Linked DNA regions of Homo sapiens: regions 2, 3 and 4 are each linked to region 1. Evidence: promoter capture Hi-C in 16 types of primary human blood cells and fetal thymus (Javierre and others, 2016). All regions are on one chromosome and are shown on one strand. The core of a region is centred on a gene start or on the middle of the fragment in contact, and the rest is flanking DNA. Distances in the headings are between cores, read along the strand shown. Region 1 holds the start of CD82-AS1 (CD82 antisense RNA 1). Region 2 overlaps TSPAN18 (tetraspanin 18). Region 3 overlaps TSPAN18 (tetraspanin 18). Region 4 has its middle 26 kb from the start of ALX4.

Region 1 (3,303 bases), core at 240-2,739:
ACCTCCTAAGCATCATTTCCTCCCGGGCTTCTTTCTTGCTCTCACTGGTCCGTTCTCTCACCTTCTTTCCAATCTTCAAATAACCAAGCTCCTCCTTCCTCAGGCCTTTGCACCTGCTGTGTTCCCTGCCTGGAATGCTTTTCTTACAGATCTTTGCTTGGCTGACTTCTTCATTCATGTCTTGGCTCAAATGTCACTGGCTCAGGCTGGCCTTCGTCGACCCATTCTGACCCTCTCCCAGCCCAGCAGTTCTCTGCAGTTAGCCAGCTTTGGTATCTTCATGGCGCCCAACACAACCAGAAAACCTGTATTGTGTACTTTTTGTCTCCACTCCCCACCCCCAAATGTCAGACCTTGTTAGTCACTCTTCTGCATCCCCAGCAACTGGCACAGTGCCTGGCATGAAGTGGGCACCCAGTAAACATTTCTTGGCCGAATGAACATGCAGCACACCTGTAGCAATACATGTGCCCCGTGCATCAGTGGAAAGAGTGTGGCACTGGAGATTTGCATATTTTCAAATTCCAGCTCAGGCCCTTGCCTGTTCGCCTTTCTGAGCCTCATTTTTTTCTTCTGTGAAATGGCCATGCTAGTGCCTGCCAGGCAGGGTGATGTCAGAGTTGGAGACGGCGTGTGGAAAGCCCATGAGGCACAGTGAGTGGGCAAGAAAGGCTGGTGTTTGTTATTATATGGACAAGAAGGAAGGCGGGTTAAAAATCAGCTTGGAATCTTAATGTCAGTGGCCCCTGGAGAACCAGCCAGCCTCTTGTCTGTCAATTCCGCAGATATTCACTGTGCACAGCACCTCACTGCGAGAGGCGCTGTTCGAGCTGGGGGTTCCCCAGGAATAAAGTGAAGCTTCTGCCCTCATGCACCTCAGGTCCTTGGTGGAGGGGGAGAGCAGACAATGAGCAAGAAGAATCAGTGAAATGTAGTCTATTCAATCCTGAGAAGCCTTACGAAGTAAAAAATAAAGCCGGGAAGGGGCTTAGGCTGGATGAGGGTGTGGATTGCAATTTTACTGGGGGAGGGACACAAGTGGGGATGGGGGTGACCTGGTTCCCTGTTGGGCAGTGAGAAGCCAGCAGGGGAATGCAGCTGACCCCAACACCCTGGCTCCAAAGAGGGGATCCGGAAGAAGACCTGGACGGTTAGGCCAGGTGTTTATACCTGCTGTGCCCACTGATTTTGTACTTCTTCTTCCCCCTAGAAACCTCCTCCAGCTCGCTTAGGATGGGGGCCTATGTCTTCATCGGCGTGGGGGCAGTCACTATGCTCATGGGCTTCCTGGGCTGCATCGGCGCCGTCAACGAGGTCCGCTGCCTGCTGGGGCTGGTGAGTACGGATCCCTCCGCAGCTGCCTGCCCATTTCCTCTCATCCAGCCGAGTGCAGCCTGACCGCGGCGCTGGCCGTAACATCGGGTGGAGAGCATCTCTCGGGGCACGCAGGCTGGGTGCACCTGGTCGGGGACCCTCAGCTGACTTTGTGCCTGCTCTGTGTCCCCAGTACTTTGCTTTCCTGCTCCTGATCCTCATTGCCCAGGTGACGGCCGGGGCCCTCTTCTACTTCAACATGGGCAAGGTAAGCCCCTCTCTCCCTCCCTCTTCACTGGGCTGGACCAACCATGGGGGTGATTGACTGAGTGTGGGGGATGGACAAGGAACCCCCCCAGTTGTCACAGACAGATCCAGTAGGTGTCAGGGACGGCCTCCTGGACACTATTCCTTGTGATCAAATGGGGGAGCGTTAGAAGAGAAGGCGGCAGGTGTGGGCAGTCCCCGCTGGGCCTGGATCTTAGCCTGACCCCCCTGCTTTCTAGCTGTGTGGCCTTGGGCAAGCTGCTTGCCTCTATGTGCCTGTTCCACCATCTGTAAAATGGAAACAATAAGAAAACTGAACTCTCAGAGTGGTTGCAAAGATTATTCGAGATTATCTGAGTGAAACACATAGCGCATGGCACCATAAGTACTCAATAAATGTTATTCTTGTTATTATTAAGATACTTTAGCAACTATTAAATCCATGCCACTCACCCACAAATGAGGTTTAGAAGGAGACCGTTAATAAAAACATCAGTCTTGTGTCCGAGGGGAGATGTTCAGCTTTCAGAAACAGAAAATCAGACTTACAGCGGCTTAAAGTTGAAGGACATCTGTGGTTGACTTGACCGGAAGTCTGGTTTGGAAGCTCAGAGGCCCTGGTTCTGGCTGTTGAGCATCCTCGCTGGGATGGCTTTCCTGCATTATGACACTTACCTCGTGGTTCCAAGATGGCTGCCACAGCACCAGGCACGATGTCTGTGCCGCTGTGGCCTGAAGATGGGGAAGTGGGCAGTGCCAGACATGGCCATCCCTTTTATCAGAAAAGGCGCAGTGGCTCATGACTGTAATCCCAATACTTAGGGAGGCAGAGGTGGGAGGATTGCTCTGAGACTAGCCTGGGCAACATGGTGAGACCCCATTTCTACAAACAAATTTTTAAAAATGCTAGCCATGGTGGTGTTCACCTGTGGTCCCAGCTACTCAGGAGGCTGAGGCAGGAGGATCCTTGAGGCCAGGAGGTTGAGGCTACAGGGAGCCATGAAACAGAGCTTGGGGCAACAGAGTGAGACCCTGTCTCAAAAAAAAAAAAAAAAAAAAGTCCTCCAACAGACTTCCCCAGACTGGGTTACAAAGCCACCCCTGGTTGCAAAAGAGGCTGAGAATGTGAGTATCCAACTTTCAGACTCTAAAGACAGAGGCACAAGAGAGAAAGGAGCCAAGAATGGCTGTTGGGTGAGCCAGTTAATTGTGAGTCACAGTTATCACGTAAGAAGCACCTACTGTGTGCACGTGGGATCTTCTAGAAACTTTCCATACAGCGTCTTGTCCTCACAATGGCTCTGCAGGGTTTTATGTTGACAGATGGAGAAGCAGATGCTCTGAGATGAAGAGCAATAACAACATAGATAACAGTGACTCTAACACCCACCATCCCTCCAGTTGAGTCCATGCACAGCATATACCAAGTACAGTGTTGACCACGTTACACTCCTCCTCTCGCAGATCCTCACTAGGCCCTCTCAAGGTCGTGGGAGAATCCCCGTCCTGCAGATGAAGGAGTAAGGACAGCCTAGGCTCCCTGACTCCGAGTCCTGAGTTCACCCGTCCCCAGACCCTGCTGCACATGGCCTGTGGCCTAGCAGACCCTTAGGGTCCCTGCTTCCAGTGCCACCAGTTCTTGTCCACCAGGGAGGGTGGCAGAGCCGGCAGCCAGATAGGCTCCTGCCCTTCACCACTTGAAGGTCAAGTTGCCTGAGATCC
Region 2 (3,353 bases), core at 599-3,098, 290 kb after region 1:
TGGAACTTGGCCAAGCTCCTTTTCCCTCTCTCGGCCTCAGTTTTCTCATTTCCAAAATGAGGGTATTGGGCTAGATCGTGCTTCCCAACCTTTGACGATTAAGAACTTCTTTTATTGATATGCTGGTGATGTAAGTTACACAAGAGCTGGATCTAAGTCAGCACTTACACAAACAGTAGTGTCAGAAGTTTACCTGAAGTTCCCTTGAAATCCTTTGTCTTAGTGTGTTTTCTGTTGCTATGACTGAACACCTGAGACTGGATAATTTATAAAGAAAAGGCATTTATTTCTTACAGTTCTGGAGGCTGGGAAGCCCAAGGTCAAGCAGCTGCACCTGATGAAGGCCATCTTGCTGCCGGGGGACTCTTTGCAGAGTTCTAAGGCGGTGCAGGGCATCACATGGCGAGGGGGCTGAGAATGCCAAAGTGGCTTTTATAACAGACCCACTCTCAGGATGACCAACCCACTCCTGTGATAACCCATTAATCCATGAGTGGATTGATCCAGTCATGAGGGCAGAACCCTTGAGATCCGATCACCTCTTAAAGGCCCCACCTCTTCATTATGTTACATCTGGTATTAAGTTTCAATATGACTTTTGAATGTGTGTCACATTCAAACCATAGCATCCTTAAACACCTGGTTTTGTTTTACACGAAACAGTTGGCTGCATCTGAGGGTCATGTTGTATTAGACACCCATCTGTAAGCACAGGACCTTCCCATGGCCAGATGAGGGTTGCTGTGACAGGCACATGAACCTTCAGACCACAGGATCCACAGAGCAGATCCTGAGGCAGACGTCACATGGAAGGACAGGGAGACCACAGCACCTAAACTGCTCTCCAGTGCTTTCCGGGTACAAACAGGGAGTGGAATTCCCACTAAGTCAAGCTTGCCTCTGATGCTGACTCCTGCATTTCATCCCTCTGAGCCCCAGGATTTAAAGAATTTTATGCACCAAATAGCATGTTCGTTTTTGTTCTGCAAAGTCATACAGACATGGTGGCCAGATATTCTGAACAACCCAATAAACAAGGTCCCCACCTGGGGGTAGTCTAATTGCTCCAAAACCCAAGACACTTGCCCCTTGAGTCAGCCCATGGTGAGAGGTTGATGTCTGAGATGTTATTTGAAATATTGAAAATAACTTTAGGATGTTGCTAGTCTCAGGAACCCAGTTTGAGCACCATTGAACACAGTCACTCTCCCTGCTTCAAAATCCTCCACCCCAGAGTCCTCCCCTCTCCTGAGGCTGAAGCTGATGTGCCTGGTGTCTAGGAGAGCAGCTGGGAGGAGCCACCTTGTGGCGGGGCAGGAGGGAGGAACAGAGCCCAGAGCCAGGATGGAGCCACCATGTGTCAAGTGCTGTATGAGGGACTGTACCTCTATGATACCATTTCATGCTCAGCACAATTTCTAGAGGAAGTCAGCATTCCTGTCCCCATTTTGCAGGCATGAAAGCAAAGGCCTGGAAAGGTTATGTAGTTCACCCATAGTCATGAGGCAAGAAAGTGATAGGCCGGGTCCCACCTGACCCTACAGGCCCCACCCACACTGCTACTCTCCCTTCAGGGACCCTTTAGCTCAGGGAAATTGGGAGACTTTGATGGGCCTCCCACCACTGGCCCCAGGGAGGGCATCATGTCCCACAGCAGACAGGCCCACCATCTCCTTTCTAAGTGCCGCTTTTTTGAGCAATAACAAAGCTCTTGGACCTCATAGTCTCAATTTTCTTCTCGCCCCACCCTCCAGAGATTCTCCATGGTTTCCCTCCCTTTAGAAGTAAGTTAGGAAACTGTGCCGTGAAGTTAACTTCTAGAAGTCATCCATGGATGGGTGGAGCTAACAGCCAGGCAGGGATTGGAGGTCCCATGTGTCTGTCACTCTAGTCTGACCAATTGGCTGTGGAGGTGTGTCCCCACATTCAGTAGGCCTCTATAGGGGATGGAGCAGGCAAGCCCTGGTCTCTAGGCTTCAGCCTGGCGGTGGGTGATGGCCTGGGAGGCTGTCCCTGCTGGAGAATAATGGGAGATCAAATGGCATAGGTGGTGTGAAGACAGGTCTGCACTTTGGAGGAGGATGGATGAATGGGGCAAGGGAATTCTCATTCATTGAGAATGCTGATTAGGAGTTGTGGCCCCAGATTAAGACAGGCGTGGGTTCAAATTCTGGCTCAGGCACTTCTGTACTGTGTGACCTTAGACAAGTGATTCCACCTCTCCGAGCCTCAGTTCCCTCCTCTGAAAAATAGAATGACATTACCTACTTCCCAGAGCTTTACAAGGATTCAATGAAATTGTGTGTGTTCCCTGGCACATAGTAAGAACTCAGTGTATGCCAGTGGTTACTATTATTAGCTACCATGTGCCAAGCCCTGTGCTCAGTATTTTCCATACAACTTGAGGAAGGCTTTTTTTTTTTTTTTTTTTTTTTTTTTTTTTGAGATGGAATTTCACTCTTGTTGCCCAGGCTGAGTGCAATGGCATGATCTCGGCTCACTGCCACCTCTTCCTCCTGGGTTCAAGCAATTCTCCTGCCTCAGCCTCCCGAGTTGCTGGGATTACAGGTTCCTGCCACCACCCCCAGCTAATTTTTGTTATTTTTAGTAGAGACAGGGTTTTGCCATGTTGGCCAAGTTGGTCTCAAACTCCTGACCTCAGGTGATCTGCCCGCCTCAGCCTCCCAAAGTGCTGGGATTACAAGCGTGAGCCACCGCGCCCGGCCGAGGAAGGCATTGTTTTTATCCTGACTTTACAGAGAAGGAATTCAGTTGTATGCAGTTTAGTAACTTGCCCCACCAGCTAAGCTTGGCAGAGCTGGGACACAATCCCCTGTTGGGCACCAAAGCCCTCTTTTTACTCATCCACCCTGCTCTGAAACTGGAACCCGGGCCTCCATATTCTTCACCGGCCCCCAGGCTCACATCATCTATTTTCCTACCTGACTCACCTTTGAGGTTGTGGGAGGCTCTTCCCAGGAGACATGTCTCCTTTGATTGCATTTGTCTGGGAGCCCAGCACTCCGCAAGCCCGGGCCATGAGATGTAATCTGCAATGAATGTGGTACACAATAAATACAGGTAGTCCGTTTATGAGCTGCCATATTTATTACACCCCTTAATTGCTAAAGAGCCAGAGCCGGCTGAAGCTGGATCCTACCCTGGAGAGAAGCTCTGCCTGGGTGGGCAGAGGGAGGGATGGCAGAGCCTGGCCTCCTGCACAGGACTACTCAGCCTCTCGCTGTTGTGGCTGCTCTGCCTCCAAAGGCCCATTCATCCAAGTCAGGGCCTGGCAGAGGAAACAGTCAGGCCATCAGATTCCTGCTCTGCCATTTGACACAAGAAGGCACTGA
Region 3 (3,147 bases), core at 293-2,792, 270 kb after region 1:
CAAGTGCAGTGCCCGGCACATGCTAAGTGCTGTGCTAGTGTACGCTATCAACAGAGCACTGAGCATTATGGGAGAATCCCCTTTCCATCCTTGCTGCAAGTCTAGACCCTGTGAAAGCCTAATGAATACAGTTCACATGTTATTTAATGATAGCAGGTATCTATATTGTGCTTACTATATGCCAGACTCTGCTTTAATGCTTTACATAAGTTATTGAAGCTTCACAGCAGCCTTATGAGATCTATACTCTTAGTATCCTTATTATACAAAAGGGAACTGAGGCACAGAGAGGTGAAGCAACTTGCCCAAGGTCACACAGCCATCAAGTGCCTAGTAAGTTAATAGCACACAGTTAAATAATATTATAGTTAATATTAAGTAATATTTATTAAGTGCCACCTGCCCAGCCTGGGCACAGGGTGCCTGTGCTTCAGAGGAGATAGATCCATGACCAGGCAGTGGCAGGACTGCATGCTGAGTGTTCCGACAGGGCAGACCCAGGGAACTGTCATGGAGCCCAGGATACCTAGGGCTGTGGCACCTAGCCAGGCCTGGAGAGACACCAGGGAGGGCTTCCTGGAGGTAGGAATGTTTCAGCTGAAGTCAGGAAGAAGATGGTCGAAATGCTTGGATAAGGGGCTGGAGGTGACAGTATGTGGTTGTGGGTTGTTGGAGGACTCAGCCAAAAATTTCCATTCTAAGATATTCCAGTGGTCCCTTGGCAGCACAGGGGCCCTGCATAGCCTAGAGACCCTGGGGTGGCCCAGCACTTCGTGGCAACCTGGGGGTTCCATGTTAGTTCAGGGAATTTCATGGTGGCCCAGATTTTTTTCCAGCACTCAAGGGACCTATGTGGTCTGGGCACACCATGACAGCCCAGAGATTCTGGATAATCCCAGGAATGCCACAGCAGCTTTAGGAAGTTGCAGACATTTTGGACCCTGGGGATTCTGTGACAACCCCAGAGATTGCATGGCAGCTCCAGGGTTCTGTGGCCCTATTCTTGTGGCTGCAGAAAGAACAATATGCAAACTCATAGCAGACAAACCCCTTGACTGGGGACAAAGAAAGCAGCATGGAAGGGACTGTACCCAGTGATGCATTTTACAGGGCTTAAGTCTAAGGAGGAAATTCTAAGGAGATGTGGCTGAAAGCCCAGTCCCTCCAAGGCCTGGGGAAGCTGAGGGGTCTGCACTCCTTAGGGTTTATTTCCTTCTGGGAAGCTGAAAATGAGCCACCTCGAGGAGGTCTGTGGGGAGTGCTGTCCTGACTTGTAGGCATGTGACTTGAAGAGGACTTAGGATGTGCCTGTTACCTGGATACAGAGGCACTGGTCCTCAGAGCCCTCTGAGCAGAGCATGGGGCAGAGCCCAGAGGGAGCTGTTATCTGTGAAGGGAGCTGGCATTCCTGGACCTACAGACATGAGGATTGGCCCCTCAGGGGGCTTATATGATCTGGGCCCTCCCAGGCTGGCATAGCTAGGTTTGTTCCAGCTCTGCCTCTCCAGGCCAGCTGGGTGGCTTCACCTGTCCCCACCTTGGACCCAGCACCCGCAGCCTGGGAATGGCCCTACATCTGTTTCTTAGGGGGCTTCAGGAGTTGAGTGGGGTGGGAAAGACCCCTGTATAAAAGCATGAGGACACATTCCTGCTCCACCATGGAGCCGTGCACTCCTGGGCAAACTCCTTCACACCACTGAGCTTCAATTTCCTCATCTGTAAAAAGGAGATGGGCCTAGCACGGTATGGGACATACAGTAACCAATGTTAGTTTCACCTCCACCTCTTCCGCCTGATTCAGAGATGGCAGCCAGGTGACCTGGGCATGGGGAAAAGGGTGGGTCTCAAGTGGAGGGCCCATCTGGCCCCATAATAGTCAATGGTCTTTGTGCCTTTGCCTCTGGGCAAAACCTCCCTCTTCTACCCTTGGAAGAGCCAGAATGATCACTCCCTGTGCCAGGCACTCGATGTCATTTAGCCCTCCCTCTAACACTGTGAGATAGTACTATAGCAATCCCATTTTACAGACAAGCAAACTGAGGCACAGAGAAGGCAACTCAGCTGTCCCAAGTCACAGAGCAAGGATTCATGCCCGAGTCTATCTTGATTGCAAAGCCTGGCACTAATCACCTCTCTTCCCTGGTATCCTTCTAAAAACACCCCAGGGAGAAAGAGGAAAATGGTGAGATGGGAACCAGCCGGAGAACTAATTGCATGCTTGGTGCCTGGGTAGGGGGACATCTTTGTCCCTCAGGTCTATGGCTGGCCGGGCCTGGCAGTTCCCAGTGGGGAAGCTGTGAGGAGAGGCTGGGGCTGGGTTCCACCCAGGCTGGCTCCTGATCCATTTGAGGATCTTCCAGCCCTCAACAGCATGGAGCCTGCTGAGACCACGCTCCTCCCTTTAGCAACCCTTTTTCAGAGAATTCCACTGGAAGAGGAGGGACGGAAACAGACATAACTGGAGAGAAGGAGGGGTCCCGCAGCCCACAGACCCATTTTGCTTTTCCAACCAAGTGAGAATCAGCATTAAATTGGGGGCAGAGGGGGCAAGACCCACTTCCCCTGCTCCCCCGTAGTTACATCTTCCCCAGGGCTGGAGCAGCAGCTCCATGCAAGAGTGAGAGGCCTTGGACCAGCCCCTTGCAGAGGTACATTCTCCCCCGTGGGGCCCTCCCAGCCCATGTGGGCCTAGAACACCAGACAGCCCAACTCACAGCCAGCTTCTCTGATGCCACTGCCAAATACCAGACCATTTACCAGGCTTTTCCAGAGAGCTGGTGTCCCCAACCAGACCTCTAAGCCTGCAATTAGGCAAGCAGCAGAGGGCTTAGCTTTCTCTGGGTTGTGGGCATTTCGGTGGGAAAGATAAGCTTGGTTTGGATTAAGCTAGAGCATAAAATAATATTTATCCTCAAACAATACTCTCTGGCTGGGAGCAAGTCTGGGCCTTGGGGCTTCGGAGGCTAGGGGCTGCCGAGGGATTTACCACCTCCCTCCAGGTCACCAGGAAATCTTACCTACCGACCTTCCCTCATCCTAGCTGGTTGCACAACCCAATTCACAGTGCTTGCTCTCATTACGAAATGGAATTGAGAAGATGTTACAGCATTCAGCACGTAATTATGTGCAGAGCACTTGCCCTGTGCA
Region 4 (3,372 bases), core at 609-3,108, 270 kb before region 1:
TGCGCCCCTGGGGCGGGGCGGGGCTGCCCCCAGGGAGTTCCCACTGATGTGTCTCCCCAGTCCCCCCATCCTAGCTTAGTGACTGGGGCTCTATGCAGCTAGCCTGCTTCTTAGTAGCTTAGCGACCTTGTAAGTAGCTGGGTATCCTTGGGCAAGGTACGTTGGCCCTCTCTGCCTCAGTTTCCTCTTCTGCTGGTAGTAGCAGTCCCTAATATAGTTGCTGTAATGCTTTAGACAAAGCCTATGAAGCACTGTGTGCAGAGCCGGGCTTGGGAAGCATGAAATAAATGTCAGCTGGTACAGCAACAATTGCCATCTTTAACAGGGCAGCCTTTCTGGGGTGACGGAGGTGTGGGGAGCAGTGTGTCTGAGTGGTGTGTGCCACCTATGCCTCTGCTCTGGAAATACCAGGCCCAGGGGAGGTATCGGCCCAGTGTCTGCCTTGCTGAGCCCTGCAGCAGAGACTTCTTCTCATGCACACACACACTGCTTCCTCCAGTCTCTGTCCTTTGGGCTGGCTGCCTGTCTGTACCCTGGCAAGGGCAAAGAGGCCCAGCCAGGGGCCCCCTGGACCCAGGCAGCTCACCCGAAACAGGCCAAGGACTCGCTGTCCTGGGAGGGGGACCAGCCCTCGGCTGCAGCTGCTCCTCCTGGGAGGGGCAGGCAGGAGCTCCCCACAGTCTCTCAGCACAGCTTGGGGTCAGTACCCAGAAGGGCATGACCTCAAAGACCTTCAGGGACCCCTCAGAGCTGCTCCTCCTGTTCCTCATTCTTCTGTAAATGAGCCAGGTCCTGGGGAAATGGGGCTCCAGCTGGAGGCCTGGTCCCCTGACCCCAATTACTTCTGGCTGGGGGTGGGGCAGTGGTTGTCCGTCCTCTTGAAGCTTCTCTCTTCCTTCCACCCCCATCCAGGGCCGCTTTTCCAGATTTTTCCCTTTCCCACACTCTTTCCCGAATGGTCCTTCACACACCCAGTTCTTCTTAAAGGGGCTCTAAGAAGAACACATTTTCTATGAACAGAACAATGCCCTATTAATCTTACAAGGGATTTGAACTTGGCAACATTTCAGCCTTTGATTTAAATATCATTTTGGTAATGGGGAAGGATAAAGAAGGCTGACTCTTGGTAAGGAGTTTCCAATACCTTCTGAGCATGAGACGATTTTGAATATAAAATTAAACCCAACTCTCTCCTCCCTTTTCTCCCTTCCTCCCTCTCTCTCTCCCTCCTGCTTTCACTCACACAAAAGCTCACTTCCCACATACTTCATGGGGATATTTCAAGTTAAAGTTTTGTTTACCTTATAGAAAAGTTAATTAGTTCCTTTTGATCTCACAGGGAAAACCACACAGGAAATTTTTCTTCAGAAAGTGTACACACGAAGGCAGGCTTTACCCTCATAACCAGAAATATTCATTAAAACAATTCGTTTCGATTTTTAATTTAAAGAAAACATTTTACATTTTCCCTATTTATTATTAAGAAAGTAGTTATCCCCAGGGCAGGGCGTTGAGGGAGTCGGAGGCAGTGTTTTCGCTGTGCTGGCAGCCAGCGTTGGGCAGTTCGTAATCCGTCCCTAGTTTGTTTTTTCTGCTTTGGATAACAAGAGACTTCTGCAGAGAGACAAACCTTCAAACATGCCAGATTTCAATCGCCAAAATATTAAAAATCCAGGGTTTTGGAGATTGAGGCTGTATGGTTTAAATAAAGATATTTAAGTTTTGAAATATAAATATTCGAGATCCTGAAAAAACATACCCATTGCATTAAAATCCGAAACAGGCAGCGGGTGAATCGCGGGGAGAAAATGTTTACTTTTTTGAGGTTTATCTAATGAAATACAATAAATAGTACATCGTGCTTTATTTTATCATTATTATTATTATTATTATTATTTTTTACCCCTAGAGATAGTTAAGTAATACCTGGATTTGTACAATAAGCGGCTTAGCAAAAGTCTGGAAAGAGAAACGCTTGGATTTCCAAAATGTGATTTTCAATCTTAAGCACATTTTCCACATCTTGTGTTGTTATGGGGTAAGGGATGCCTGGGACTGCAAATTGTGGAATTCATTTCCAGCACGGATCAACCAAAAAAGAAAGAGCATGGCTTCACTGAGGTTGAAAGAATAAATTAAACGATATTGCTGATGGCGTAGCCAAAAGCTGTGGTCCCCATTACTGCGAGAAAAAAAAAAATCATACAGATATGGTATGGACAAAAAGCCTGTGGAAAAGATGTTTTTACAAAAGAAAAGCCACAAAAACATAACAGCTCTAAAGAGTGGTGTTGACATCAGTATATAATTTTGAGGGTATTTTTGGGGTATGTATCCCTTTCCTGCCCCTGACACAAATATTTGGAGATTGGGACTGTCATTGTTGATAAAAATTAAATTGATGCCGCATACAAAAGATATATAAAAAGCATGTTAACATATGGGGTGACTTTGATGATGTTCTGTACAGCAAAAGTATAAGAATCTGATGACATTTTATTGTCACCGATTCCTGTTTTAATCTGCCCTGACCACTGCCTTTAAAAATAGAACTCTTAATATAGATTCCTTTCCTCAAAGTTTTCACCTGAAGATAAATTTTCCGGTTTAAATACACTCCATTCTCCTTTTTAATTTTTCTTTCTTTTTTATTTTTGGTAAATGGTGAAGGCATGTGACAATCCATTTGTGAAGTTGGAAACAAATACAGATATTTTGAAGAAGGGTTTTAAAATGCTGACTGGAGGAGCCGATCCCTGCAAATGAACAGCCCCAGGGAAACTGGTTATTAGTACGAGTTTCCATAGTCTTTCCGTTCAAATGCAGAGCCCCAAAAGCTTTTTAAAACTGTCCTTCTATAACACATTTATTTTCATTTCCTCCCTAAGATACCTTTGATATTTTCTTCTAAAGAAGTATTTATGCTTTTTAGAGTTGAAAATGCTGTTTTTTTCTTCTTTTTTTTCCCTTGAGGGAAACAATTTAATGTGGAGTTTAAGGGGAAGAGAAACTCATTTAACAAAATGGATAGAAAACAGAAGTTTCAAATGGATACCCAATTCCCTCTTTGGATTTGCCAAATAATTACTAAAAATCAAATACTTCCCATAAGACGATGGATGCAATTCCTCCCAGATAAATAGGCATCTATTTCCACTTTTATCCAAACAAACAATTTTGTCTGTGGCTAGAAGTTTTGCAGACTGGGGTCCCTCACATCCTAAGTGCTCGCCATGGGGAACCTTCAGATTACAATAGGTATATAATATATGTGTATAAAATTGTCCTTTCCATGAAGAGGAAAACAGGGGAATTCCCACAAACTCCGAGTTCTTTCTTTAGGAGAGCAGTGGGCTAGGAGAGACTTGGGGC

What was found. Contacts are between HindIII fragments. The CHiCAGO score rates a contact against its expected background, and 5 or more counts as called.
Region 2: a contact is called between a fragment that was not itself captured here and the fragment with the promoter of CD82-AS1 in region 1, in 9 of 17 cell types (total CD4 T cells, naive CD4 T cells, megakaryocytes and 6 more). The highest score is 10.7, in total CD4 T cells.
Region 3: a fragment that was not itself captured here is called in contact with the fragment with the promoter of CD82-AS1 in region 1 in 1 of 17 cell types (megakaryocytes); the score reaches 5.4 in megakaryocytes.
Region 4: a fragment that was not itself captured here is called in contact with the fragment with the promoter of CD82-AS1 in region 1 in 1 of 17 cell types (total B cells); the score reaches 5.1 in total B cells.

Annotation. Positions count from the first base shown.
Region 1 is chr11:44,603,848-44,607,150 of GRCh38, forward strand. CD82-AS1 (CD82 antisense RNA 1) reads right to left here and starts at 1,490. Exons shown (of 2, transcript NR_182290.1): 1 at 1,171-1,490; 2 at 661-883. It overlaps CD82 (CD82 molecule), which reads left to right. Exons shown (of 10, transcript NM_002231.4): 5 at 1,211-1,335; 6 at 1,508-1,582. The HindIII fragment of the contact is 7,514 bases long and covers 857-3,303 here.
Region 2 is chr11:44,898,269-44,901,621 of GRCh38, forward strand. All of the region lies in intron 3 of TSPAN18 (tetraspanin 18), which reads left to right. It overlaps LOC124902664 (a long non-coding RNA gene), which reads right to left. Exons shown (of 3, transcript XR_007062659.1): 3 at 2,870-3,050. Among named protein-coding and RNA genes, the nearest start is that of TP53I11, 51 kb to the right of the region's middle. The HindIII fragment of the contact is 1,915 bases long and covers 892-2,806 here.
Region 3 is chr11:44,872,459-44,875,605 of GRCh38, forward strand. The region is part of intron 3 of TSPAN18 (tetraspanin 18); the gene reads left to right. Among named protein-coding and RNA genes, the nearest start is that of TP53I11, 77 kb to the right of the region's middle. The HindIII fragment of the contact is 2,651 bases long and covers 218-2,868 here.
Region 4 is chr11:44,334,009-44,337,380 of GRCh38, forward strand. No RefSeq gene overlaps it. Among named protein-coding and RNA genes, the nearest start is that of ALX4, 26 kb to the left of the region's middle. RefSeq lists an enhancer at 565-1,133. The HindIII fragment of the contact is 1,953 bases long and covers 883-2,835 here.